Regions from separate parts of the Homo sapiens genome. Here all the other regions are linked to region 4. The links are contacts of gene promoters, found by promoter capture Hi-C in blood cells and fetal thymus (Javierre and others, 2016). All regions are on one chromosome and are shown on one strand. Each heading gives the region's core, a stretch centred on a gene start or on the middle of the fragment in contact. The rest is flanking DNA. Distances are from core to core; before and after follow the strand shown. Region 1 overlaps SEPTIN11 (septin 11). Region 2 overlaps SHROOM3 (shroom family member 3). Region 3 overlaps SEPTIN11 (septin 11). Region 4 holds the start of SCARB2 (scavenger receptor class B member 2).

The links. Contacts are between HindIII fragments. The CHiCAGO score rates a contact against its expected background, and 5 or more counts as called.
Region 1: a fragment that was not itself captured here is called in contact with the fragment with the promoter of SCARB2 in region 4 in 2 of 17 cell types (M2 macrophages and M1 macrophages); the score reaches 5.4 in M2 macrophages.
Region 2: a contact is called between a fragment that was not itself captured here and the fragment with the promoter of SCARB2 in region 4, in 1 of 17 cell types (M2 macrophages). The highest score is 5.0, in M2 macrophages.
Region 3: a fragment that was not itself captured here is called in contact with the fragment with the promoter of SCARB2 in region 4 in 1 of 17 cell types (M2 macrophages); the score reaches 5.6 in M2 macrophages.

The regions. Positions count from the first base shown.
Region 1 is chr4:76,975,390-76,978,804 of GRCh38, reverse strand. The region is part of intron 1 of SEPTIN11 (septin 11); the gene reads right to left. Among named protein-coding and RNA genes, the nearest start is that of SEPTIN11, 27 kb to the right of the region's middle. The HindIII fragment of the contact is 1,976 bases long and covers 795-2,770 here.
Region 2 is chr4:76,741,701-76,744,645 of GRCh38, reverse strand. It overlaps SHROOM3 (shroom family member 3), which reads right to left. Exons shown (of 11, transcript NM_020859.4): 5 at 2,720-2,945. It overlaps SHROOM3-AS1 (SHROOM3 antisense RNA 1), which reads left to right. Exons shown (of 3, transcript NR_187405.1): 2 at 1,746-1,838. Among named protein-coding and RNA genes, the nearest start is that of SHROOM3-AS1, 59 kb to the left of the region's middle. The HindIII fragment of the contact is 2,652 bases long and covers 18-2,669 here.
Region 3 is chr4:76,953,602-76,956,817 of GRCh38, reverse strand. The region is part of intron 1 of SEPTIN11 (septin 11); the gene reads right to left. Among named protein-coding and RNA genes, the nearest start is that of SEPTIN11, 5.5 kb to the right of the region's middle. The HindIII fragment of the contact is 1,799 bases long and covers 610-2,408 here.
Region 4 is chr4:76,212,511-76,215,558 of GRCh38, reverse strand. It overlaps SCARB2 (scavenger receptor class B member 2), which reads left to right and starts at 1,735. Exons shown (of 12, transcript NM_005506.4): 1 at 1,735-2,132. The coding sequence starts at 2,016. It also overlaps a transcript of FAM47E not described here. RefSeq lists silencers at 1,397-2,016, 1,930-2,334. The HindIII fragment of the contact is 5,631 bases long and covers 1-3,048 here.

The sequences.
Region 1 (3,415 bases), core at 533-3,032, 760 kb before region 4:
GTGAAGAGGTCAAACGTTGTAGGGGTGTTTGCTCTCAGGAAATAAACTATTCTGCTAAAGTTCACAAGTATAAAGCTCTTATTTTATACATATATGGCAGGCATTATGCTGAGTATTTTACATAGGTCTCATTTACTTCTCACAATCGCCTCTGAGGTGTGCACCGTTATTATTCCCATTTTACGGTGGAGGTCAGTGAAGCTCTAAGAGATTAAGCTGCTCAGGGTTGTGCAGCAAGTAAGTGGTAGGGCCAGGAGTCAAAGCCAAGCAGGCTTCCTCCAAAGCCCAGGCCACTACATTAGTAGAGCCTGGGAGTCTAGAAAAGTTACCTCTGGTCAACCTTTTATAAACCAGAGAGTGATGTGTGTGTTGGCCATCAAGGGACATGCGTGGCCCACCCAAGCACATCACACTACAGAAGTCACCAACTTCCAAGGTGAGAAATCGCTGGAGAGGTAGGTTGTCATGGTGCACAGGCCCTATTCCACCAAGTAAGAGCACACAAGGAAAGCAACGTGGGAGCTACGGGAAGTGGGAACAGCAGGAAACAAGAGAAGGAAGAATCCAAGAAGAGACCTCCACCACCAGCTGCTGGAGTGGATTTCTTATATTTCTCACAGAAAAGAAGCAGAGTAAGTCTAACCCAGAGAGTACAGATTAAGGTTAGGCAGCCTACAGCAATCACTCTTACTCTCTCTCACACTCTTCTAAGAGCAAGGATTATCAAGTCTCCTTTCTTACTTTTCTCTGGCAAAGCTGTAAGAATTAGTTGCAGAGAAAAATCAACCAAAGCTTACATAGAAGTTGCAAAGAAAAACAAGAAAGGATGCAGTTAGCAGTCCTGACTGATTAAAACCACATGACTAACATATCAGATATTCCCACCACTTCCTCCTTAGCTTCTTATAGACTACTGAGGAGCAAACACACATATGCTTGTATTACCAAAAACAAACAAACAAATAACCTTTCGGTAGTATGGGCTAGAGAAGAAATATTTTCTGTATCTCTACCTAGTATGTGCAAGGAACTGGTAAGCCATTTTATCAACTTAATCATCCTAAAAAAAAAAAAAAAAGACGAACCTTTTGGGATAAGAGGACATCCCCAGACTCACTCCTTCATCCTTTTTAGAAAGGCTAAAAATGCTCATTACCTGGTATTAAAATTAGACTAATGAAAAAAAATATTGATTTACTGATGAAACTCCATTATCCACTTCTGAGCTTATATTTAAAAATAAGTCTTTAAAAACTAGCAATACTTTTACTCTCAGGAAAACTAATATTCATTATTCTAAAGCCTACCCTGAGCTAGGCATTAGTTGGTAATTTCACTTGTGCTGTTTCACTTAATAAATACAATATTTACTTAGACCCCCATTTCTGAAGGCATTTTAATTACACTCACATTCCTTTACATGCACTTCTCTGCAACTTGCAATTTGGAACAAATGTTCAACCACTAGCCACCATGGCAGCAACATAAAATACCTGTTTTGTTGATTTCCTAACAATCCATGAGGTAATTACAAATAGTTTACTCAGGCCCTTGGAAACCATGTTCAGATATCATCTACTTAAGCAGTAATATTTTTGTAAGTGTAACAAAGGGGAGAGCATTCTAAAATCAAACTTTAAAAAATTCAAAGTCACATATTATTTACTGCCATATTCTCTCTCTCTTGAGCTTTTTACTATGGTTTAAATTTCTCTCCCACCAAAAATGCTTTCTTTAGAACACTATACTCTTCTTTCTCTACCTCATTCCATGTTATATTGTGTAGCTGGGCTTATCTACCTTAAGGCAAATAAGGAAAAAAACATAAAAACTACTTTAACCATTATATTCCATAGCTAAACATCCATCAGGGCTTCCAATCCTATTTCAGCTAGGTTGGCTATAAGTGACAGGGACCACCACTTCTCTGGTTTTCAGTATCATCATCTGTAACATAGATGGGTGGAGAAGGGTCATTGAGGAAAGGTACATAAACTCTAGTTGTTAAATTACGGGATTCTAACATTTGCAATGGGATAAAAGATTAAAGGCTGCCAGAGCCTATGTCAGAGTGGGTATCAGACTTCAAATAAAACCTCACTAGAGGTATTGGGTCATCAAAACAAAAGTCTAAAATGCTGACGCCAAGCAAGAAGATACTACAGAGTGGGATGGCTCCCAACATAAGTCAAATAGCGGGTTACCCTTTCCAAGAAGTGCAACTTTATGATTGTTTAGATACCACAAAATCAGCCTATTATCTAGTGGAAAGGAGAACAACCAACGAGTCTTTGAGGGCCAGGATCAATGTGACATAGAAGGCTTAGAACGGTTGAAAGCCATTGTCGTCTGACAGTCAAACATTCAGACACCAAGAAATCTCATCACTCTAGTCCCAAAGTTGAGCTTGCAAGTCTCCAGTTCTGTGTATTCATGCAGCAATTAGGGAATCACAAGCCTTGGATCTTATGTTAACACAAGTATAGGAAGTGAAAAATAATTCTGATGGGTGAGCCAGGTATCAAAAGGGGTATTTTAAAAAACTGGTCCTAGAAAGATGCAAGAGATACAAGCCAAAAAAAAGCAGAAAATGTTGAATACAAAATACAGTATTTACTGTTTCCTCAAGTACTAAAAACCAGAGGTTTCTTTAAGTATATAAGTAGATACCTCATAATCTTTTACAACATGTCCTTACCATGTAAAGAAAATAGAACAAACACTCACATACCCAACACCCAGCCCAAAAAACAACACATTAACAAAAGCTTTGAAGCCCCATGGTATCCTGTGAGATGGCATCACTCTCCCTCTGTACTGGAGGTAAACACTATCCTGAATTTGCCTTAAACTCTTTTCTTGTTTTTCTTTATAGTGTTACCTTATACACTACTATCAGGACACAGTCACTAACTTCAAAATAACAAAAGTGCTTACTTCCTTCTCCAAGTTATCTGTAGGAAATTCAGAACTCCTCCTTAGAGAAGACTGAAGGTAAAGATACAGAGAGTAGATGAGTTACTTTAAAGAAAGTGGTTCTCAAAATTTGGTAAGAGAATCCTTGGGTCCTCCCCAAGAACCTTTTAGGGGTATATAAGTTCCTCCTTTTCCAACCACATACCTATGTGAGGTTGGATCTTCAGGTACTTCAACCAAAAGAATACGCTGCATCAGAGTGAATGAAATACAGATCTGATGACCCAGCTGTCCATTAAGTCAGACATTAAAGAAATTTGCAAAATGTGAAACAATGCATCTCAGCTAATTTTTTGACTTGAAAAATGTATTTTTCATAAAACAATGTTATTTACATTAACATGTAATAAGTTTATTATTGTTATTTTAAGTGAATAAGTAAATATATTTCAAACTTGAAGTAATAATAATAGAAGCGGATTGAAGTTGCAACAAAAAC
Region 2 (2,945 bases), core at 94-2,593, 530 kb before region 4:
AAACCTTCCCAAAAGCTTACTGATAATGTTCTTGAAATTTATTCAATAGGAAAAATATGTATATAATAACCACAATAGTTATGTGGTGAGAGTAACTTTGTTTTATTTTTTACTCATCATAACTACAAATAAGGCAGATGATGAAGAGGATGCAAGGAGCAGACCGCCTTGCCATGAGATGCTTCTCCAGTCAGCTAAGGTCTGGCTGCTGTGCAGGAGACCAGGAGAGGGAGGAAGCTCAAGAATGCAGTCCTGGCACAGTGACAATATAAGAGACTATGCATTGTTCAGAAATTTCAGTATTTGTTGGAGCAAAGCAGTACAAAAGAAGTATTTCATTTGGAAATATTTCCCTCTCTGCCTGCATATTCCCCAAATTAAATAACATCTAAATATGGCATTCCCTTTATGAAAAGGGTGCCCAAGTACTGTTTTGTATTCACTTGTCTTTCTAAAAAGTTTTCCAAATAATACAAAGTATTTAATTGGGATTTGGAGGAATCTCTTCACTTCTCCCAACGCCTATGTTTTAGCTTTATTTCTTAATCAACCAGGCTTAAGAAATATTTGGGGGGAAAGATAAAATAACATTCATAGCCATCCAACCAACCTCTAAGACAAAATAACAATATCTAATGGGGAATAAACAATAATGATTTGGTTTTCACCTAAGCATTTTTATTTTCTTTGAAACACGGGGAGAGAAAGGAAGGTGTCTAGACTGCTATGCAGTTAAGTTGCTAAAATCCATCAAGCTAAATGAAATTGTGTGTTACATATATGGATTTTAAATGTGTGTTAGTGGTAGGATAGGGAGTGGGAATTAGCTCTGTTCATTCTGAAGGAAGGAAAAGGCTACTGAAGGCTTATGGGAAGTTGCCTCTATATTTGTCGGGGATTTATACTGGGAGAAAATATTTCTGTACAATTCTAAACAGAAAACATCTGGGAGGGGACGGTATTTTCTCTCAGAAGGAAACAGGCAAGAGTCTGATGTGCACTTAAGCTCCATCACTAGTATCTATTGTTCTGCAATGAAGAGGAATTAAAGGAGAAGAAAATAGAAGGTTGCATGTTTCAGAGAGGATTTCAAGCTGGCTGAGGAAGAGGCCAGACCTGCCAAATATATGAGAAGGTCTCAGGCTACAAGTAGTTCAAAATGGTAGCCTCCTGCAGTCATTATTTCAGGCCAGAGATGGATCAATCGTCACATACAGAGGAACTGATTTCCATGATGACTTTGTTTTTGGAGGCAGAAAGGCCTCCCTAATGAGAATTTTGAAAAAGAGCTAAATCCTTGTCAAAAACTTGTAAAATCCTGCCCTATAAGCATCTGACTGGTAAGAGCAAGTAGCATTTGTTGCTGTATGCGTGTGATAGAGTGCAGCAAACTTCTCAGCCAGAACTGCTGAATCTTTCTTTGTCTGAACTGGTTTCTTCCCATCAATGCATCCCCTCTCCCCTAATCTCTTGTCATCATGCCCATCTTTTACATCCTGGCCCAAAATCCCATTTCCCTTCAGGAGAAGCACTTTCAGATCACCTCAGAATTAATCACTTTCCTTTCCATAGCATATTATTGATCACTATTCCCAAAGCATTCACTAGTCATATTAGATTTATACATATAAGGTCGTATTCCTTGCTTAACTGTGAACTCCAGAAAGGCATGAGCCTTATTTTTTCCTTTTGTGTATCCTTTGATGCTGTAACACAGCATTTTTCATACAACACATGCTCTACAGATGCTTGCTGAATGGCTGACTTCTCTGAAAGGGAAAACAGCAGAATCTGAGAGGGGAGAGTGGAGCGGAGTTCTTCCTCCCCTGTGCTAACAGGTATGTGATTCCTATTATTGTCTTTGGTGGGAAGGGAAGCATGAGGCAGGCCCCTGGTCTACAGTGGAAGTGAAGCCTGAGGATAGGCTAAGAATTAGGGAAATTAACAGGCTCCTAGGAGTCAGAATGCTCAGCTTCTATTCCCAGCACTGCTTAAAATTTTCAGGGGAAAGTACTTTATAATCCTTGCAGCATTTGGTGCCTTTATTAGAAAATCCTTTTATGTGAGATTTTGAGTTTCTTATTTTCTCTCCTCACCAGGATAATGCACAGAAAGAGCTGAGGTGGGAGTCCGAGAGACAGGGGTCTGACATGTATAATATACTCTGCTGCACAGGATTATCATGAGGGTTAAATGAAATAATAAATGTAGATTACACTTAGCTCAGGACCTGCCACACACTTAGCTGAGGGCCAGGAATTCAATAACCAATGACTATCAATGTCAATCATTCTAGCTATTTTGTAGATGCAAAGTCCAATAGAAACAGAAAGGGTGCAAAGCTAAAACTTTTAAAATACTCAGACCCAGACTCTAATCCATTAAAAAAAAAAAAGCAAAAAACAAAAAAGATAATCCCTAATTTTTCTTAACCTTGCATTTTTCCATTGAGAGGTGGTGACTTCCTAAAATGGAGGTAGACAGATAGATAGAGAATCTGTATAACAACATACGTAATCTAGATACCTATATCTTTATAAGGAAACCAGGTAAGGGACACTTGAGAAACTCAACTCATGAAAACAAATGCTACTTTTCTGTAATCACAAGGAAAACTGAACTGGGAGAGCGGGTGAGAGTGTGGGGGGTTGGGGAGCCCCACTAAAGCTTCTAGGGAGGAAGGGACAGTTCGAGGCCAGGACTTGCTGGTTGCACGTACCTGGCGCTTGTCTGCGGTGGCGGGAGATGACCTGGACCTCACATGGACAGGGCCCGCAAGGACGTCCGAGCGTTCCAGCAGGTCCTCGGCCGACATGGACTTCCCGGCCCTGGCCCCCCAGGAGGATGGCTCCCTGGGGGTCTCATCCCCTCTCTGGGTGCCCCTTGTTCCACCGTTTGCTCCGCTAAGCAGGTCCCCGCGTCGCCGTTCCCCGAGGCGGCGGCCA
Region 3 (3,216 bases), core at 260-2,759, 740 kb before region 4:
TTCACTGCCCTCCCTAGAGGGGGATTTACTTCCCCAGCCCAAGGGTCTTTCAGAGCCACTCTTTACAGGAGGATTCTCTATCCTCATTCTTTTGAATTTAGGAATGACCATTTACTTTGGCCAATACAATCTGCATGGAAGTGACCCATCTAAGAGCTTGAGAAGCCAGCTCTTGAGAAGCCAGGGTTCAGCATGTCTCTTTGTCCTCTGCCACCAGGCTGGCAATGCCCAGATAGAGGATACTCCCTCAGCCTGGGTCCTGGAGGCAATGCAGTATGCAGCAGACCTCCGAGGGTGGAACAGCTGCATGAGAAATAAACCCTTGCTATGTAAGCCACCAAAACATGGGGCCAATTTGTTACCGCAACATAATTTAGCTTAACTGACTGAATCAGATGGGAGGTCTGTATGCATGTTGGTCTAAAAGCCTTTGGTTCCAAAGCCTAGCTCTCCCACAAATTTGCTGTAGCAGATTAACTGACAACTTCTTCCTGTCTCATTTTCCTTCTCTATATTACTTCTCAGGTATTTTGTGAGTATAAGGTGAGATAATTGTCTTGACAGTAATTTGAATTGAATAAATTTGAAAATCAAGATGCTGAACAAGCTTCCCGTGCACAGAAGTTTTTGGTCAAGCCTTTTGCCCTCCAACAGCAGGTCAGAGTAAGTTTAATGAGTACCTTAATGAGATTCACAAAATTTATACTGGTATGAAGACAGTACTCAAAGAGATGAGATAACTAAAACAGCATGAAGTCTTAAGTAAACCCTGGCTTTTAACAGACTCTTCTCCTGTTTTCATAAAATCCAATGAGTTTTTAATTTCCTTTTTGGAGAACACTGATTGCCACTTGAAGTCCAAGGTGGAAAGAGTCCTACCATCTTCCCCCCCAGCCCCACCACACTCTTCAGGACTCAGTTGCTTAGGTCTAAGAAAATAATAACTTCTAGTTCTGAATCCTGAGGAAAGGCTCAATGCATAAAACTGGGCAGAGGAAGATCTAGCATTGTCGTTGTCATATGTTGTCACTGGACTCTCCTTCTCTGTGTCCTCTGTCAGTCTTCATTTCCTCTATTCTTTAAGGGTTCAATTTGGGCATGAAAGGAATCAACTCCCCTGATCGTTTCTCAACTCTCCTATTGAATCCTGAAGAATTAGTAGTCTGCAGATTTTCTTTGTCTTCCTTCAACCAATTTCAAGGATCTGAGATATCTTAAGTTATGGGCAAAGGGTGGATGGAATATAAAGCATTTAAAGAGCTACACAGTAAATACATGCCTATAAAGAATGCACTGCACAACTGAGTCTCTTCCCACCTCCTCAGCCTCTTGTCTGTCCACTCTCCCTACCCAACCCTAAGGCTGACGTTCCTGCTACATTGGATTTCTTAAGAGTCTCTCCCTCACTTCCAGAGCTTGGCACATGCTGTTTCCTGGGCTTGGAACACTTCCACAACCACCTCCCCATCTCCCTTTCCTTGCTAAATCCTATTGCTTACTCAGCCTATAGAGAGATTTCATGAGAGCAGCAAAGACTGCAGTCAAGTACTCACCAACATAATTTCAGCACCTGCATATAGAAGGTACACAAGAAATGTCTGATAAAACAGGTGGGTTGGAAAGGCAAGAATGAGTACTGATGTGTTAGGGTGTTGAGGATTATTTTGTTTTTCAATCTCTAACCTATCCACATTATTGTGCCTCAACTTCTATAAGAGAAAAAAAATCAATTCTTCCCAAAGGAATGTTATTATCAAAAACAAGTAGGTAAATTTTAATGTTATGCTATATATATTTTCATTTCCTTTTTGTACAATAAAAATGCAAAAAAAAATAAATAAATAAATAAAAAAGAAATCACACACAGACAAGAACAAACAAAGCTCCCACTTGTCAGAAAAATGGTCCTTTTAGAATATGGTCTCTTTCCCACCTCACCACCTCAGCCTACCCCTCTCTCAATGTTTCACACTCCATCCTACCCAGTCACAGTTCAGCAGGTGGGCAGAATGTGTCCACAGAACTGGACTTCCTGTGCCATTTGGCTTGAGCGATGTGCTCACACTCATTGGCGTCGATCCTAAAAAGAGGTGGCTCTGGTGCCTTGGCTTTGTCATATCAGGGAACAGACTCCTGATTTCTATCTCAGGTCAAGCCTGGAACAATGTGAATTTCATTTTAGATCGCCCAGCAAATTCCTTTTAGAAGTCTGTCTCTATTACCTTAGCCCAAGTATTGTTTTTATGTTCAACAGCTGCTGCATTGATGGGCTGCCAGCAGGCATGAGTGGGTCAGGGGAAGTATTGTTATTTGAGAGTTTTCTGTCAATCCAGATTTTTAAAAAGGGGGCGGGGGAGGTTATCAATTATATTGTAAAGTAGATCTCCTTGGAAAAAAGTATAGAAGCTTTAGATGTGTTGGGTTTCATTTAAATAATGGTTCAGCTTTGCTAACCCCATTTGAGACAGGTCTAGCTAAGACTATGAAAGATGGATCCCAATAAAATGATAAAATCCAAGAGCAGCGTCTATCCCCAACCAAATTTAGAGTCCTATAAAGAGAAACACAGGCACAGAAAACTCTGTGGGCTGCGCCACAGTCTAAATCCGATGATCATGATCAGTGTGACATCATCATTGGGTAGAATATAAACACTTGGTCTGCTGGCAATCAATCAAGTAGGCCATCCAAATCAAGGAAACAGCAGAGTCCCACAATCATTTGTTCCTTTTGCAGACATAGGATGGCCCATGCCCAAACACTAAGCATCCACTTCCTTCATTTTAAGAGTATTATTCAAATGGTCACACAGGACTCATTCAGGCACACAGTTTGGTTTCTAGGTGGCAGTTTATACAAGATGGGTTATGTCTGCTCAAAAAAGTGGTGAAATAGACTAAACACCTAAGAACTATTATATCAGGATAGTGGGTTATGGGCAGTTTTGTTCTTTTAATCAATTCCTTGGGTCTCCTTTTCACTGTAATGTAGACACATCATTTTTAAAGATGATAATTTAAAAGATAAATTAATCTATAACTTTCGAAAGATTTTAAAAGGAGAGATTATTGTACCTCAGAAACTTCTTGCATTCCTTAATAACTGCTTATAGAGCCTCAGTATGTATAATTTATATCACTGACTAAAAAGTTCTAATTTTTGAAAACTGACCTGAGATGACAGTCCCTTTATTGTTTAGGTGGCCCTCCCCTGGAC
Region 4 (3,048 bases), core at 486-2,985:
CAAAGCGAGAAAGTATAGACCCCACCTCTCAACGAAAGGAGTAACAAATAATTTGCCACCATTTTTAAACCATCATGCTATCTCACCAAGTCCTCAACAAAGCCTCCTAACTGATTTGCTGTCCTCAGATTCTCATTAGTGACAGATCGGGATGCAGCAATGCGCAGAGTAGAAAAAGTGAGGGTTTTGGAAGCCAACAGCCAGCCCTACATCCTGGTTCAAGCAGGATCCACCACTCAGCAACCAGTTGAGCTTGTTAGGTTACTTAACTCAGAGCCCCAGTGTTCTTGAGTGTAAAATGAGGATAATACACTATAGTTGCCAAGAAAATGTACTTCTTGGATCTTGCAGTGTAGATAGCATAACTGACCAATGGCTCCGCCTCAACTGCTGAGCTCTGCTGAAATCCATACCCTGATATTTATCCCTAGGTTGCTGCAAAGGCCAGCTTCCTAAGGCTGCTCCCAGCTCATGACTGAGCACAGCAGGGATACTAAGGCGGGCCTCTTTCTGGGAGATGCCAGACTTCTGGGACAAGCCCATTTGGCTAAAGGATTCCCCACCCCAATGGCCTTGCTGAACTTTTTATACATGGACTGTATATATATCAAATGCTTCCTTCCACCCAACCTTCCTTCCTTGCTTGCCTCTTTCCTTCACAAGGATCACACCTGCATCCCAGGTCCAGCTCCCTGTTTTCCCTCAAAACTCTCTTGCATAGTACCCCCATCTGGGACTGTTTCTGGAGGACTGGGACAAACACAACCTCCTATTCATAGGACTGCCAAGGGTATTAAATGAGTAGAACTGTGCAAAGAAACTAGTAAAGGGCTGGCGTAGAAGAAACACTCATTTAACGAACACTTCTTGAGTCCTGGCTGTGTGCAGGTCTTGGTCCTGGGTGTCTGGGACACCACAGTGAGCAAAGCAGGCAAGAACACCAGCGATGCCTGCTTTAAGCTCCTTCCCAACTTCCACATCTTTAACAGGATACCAAGAGCCCTTCAAAGTCTGACCTCTTGGGGCCTCAACACCTCCGACTCCACCCCCTGAACACCTGAGCCTACAGTCAAAAGGAACTTCCTTCTTGCTTCCTACAGGTTTTGCTCTTTCACCCCCAATGCCTTTGCTCACCGTTTCCTTCTCCGTGAAATGCCTCCTCCTCCCTTTTTTGCACATCTTCCATTCTTGCACATGCCCCTTACGTGACAAACTTATGCATCCCCCAGGCCCCAGTTCAATGTGGGGCCCTAGGTCATCCAGGCAGAACATGCTTGCTGGCATGATCTCAGCAGGCACCTGGTAGAAGCACTTGCTACATTGTGTTGTAATTGCGGTAACGGTGTCCCCGCTAACTTGCGAGCGCCTCTAGAGCAGGGGAATGTCCCAGCCACCTTGAATCCCCAGCGCGTGGCCCATGGGAGGCCCTCAGACCTATCTGCGGAATGAGTAAATGAGTGTGTGAACCAGGTTCGGCAATTTCGGTGGGGCGAGCGCTGGGCCTGCGGTGCAGGGCGCTGGGAGCGGCCAGGCCGGGCCTGGCTCAGGCGCCGCAGCCACTCAGGGCCACCGGGGACCGGCCGGGGAGGGCGCGGGCCGAATCACTGCCGCCGCCGCAGGGCACATGACTGCGGCCTCCGCCCCCGCCCGCCTCCCCGCGCAGTCGCCGGCGGTTGCCTCGCGGGGTTGCGGCGAGCCCGGCCCGCGAACGTCACGTCCCTGCGCGCTCCCTGCACTCTCCCGAGCTGCGCTAGGCGGGCGCCACGGCTGCCCGGCGAAGGAAACCGAAACCGAGTCCGGGCCCGTCCCTCCGCGGCCCCATCCGCCCGGTGCACCCGGGGCCGCGCTCGCCAGGCCGCGGAGCCCAGAGCTGCGCGCACGAACCGTGCGCCGGGAGGGCGTGGGCGTGGCGCCGAAGGGTCCCGGGTCTTCGACGCCTCTGCGGCGGCTCCTCCCTCCTTGCAGTTGGATCCCTGGCGGGTGCGGCCCGGCCCGGCCCGTGAGCGGCGCACAGAATGGGCCGATGCTGCTTCTACACGGCGGGGACGTTGTCCCTGCTCCTGCTGGTGACCAGCGTCACGCTGCTGGTGGCCCGGGTCTTCCAGAAGGCTGTAGACCAGAGTATCGAGAAGGTGAGGCGGGGCGGGCTGTGTGTGTGTTGTGGAGTCGTCCAGCTCACCCTCCCATCCCTGCTGCTACATCTTGTATGGGAAAGACCAGCACTCAGGCAGACCCTCCGCGCTAGAGCTCTTCTTGCGTCCCTGTCTTCCAGGGCTTGGTAGGCGAGGGTTAAAGAAGGATGAGGAAGGATGGAGCCGACTCTGTTCCCTTTACAGTGATAAGTAAGGCTATGGATCCTGACTTTTAAAAAGGCCTTCGGTTGTGTTCTGTCGTTTGCATCTCTCCCCACTCCTTCCGTCTACACCCCAATCTCAGGTGGGCCCAAACTTGTTTCCTTCCCACTTCATGAAGAAACAGAACTGAATGAAAGACACCGCAGAAGAGGCAGGTTATGTTGTCTGCTTGCTGTAGCCTTTGAAGTGGTGTGCGCCTGGGGATGAGACGTGGGTGTGCGGTCTATTGTGTTCTTGCCCTCTTGGGCTGGGCAGGGGCAGTTGGTAGCTGGGCCAGTCCTTTAGGCTGGGTGACAATTCATCCATCAGTCTTTGCTGAACGCTGACTTAGTGGCTTTGTATCTTGTACCAACAGTCTGTGTTGCTTTGTCTCACCATGAATTCTTGTTTTTCTCAAACGGCCATAATTTTCAGGCACAGATGCATTTAGATACCCTACAAGAATCTGAACTTGTCTCTTCCTCTAGATGATTGGGCTGGAGAGCCAGTCCTTTAAGAAGACTTCATCTTTTGATTTCACTGGTCATTTCATCTGCCCTTTCCCCCACATCCACCAAGCTGTGTCAAAAGAGGAACAAAAGAGAATTACTGGGATCATTTTTTCCTTAAAAAAGAAAAATAATCACTGGAGCAGCAGCCTTTCTTGTTAGCATCCATAACTGCACGCTTCATTTCTCCCACTGGTCTGCACTTG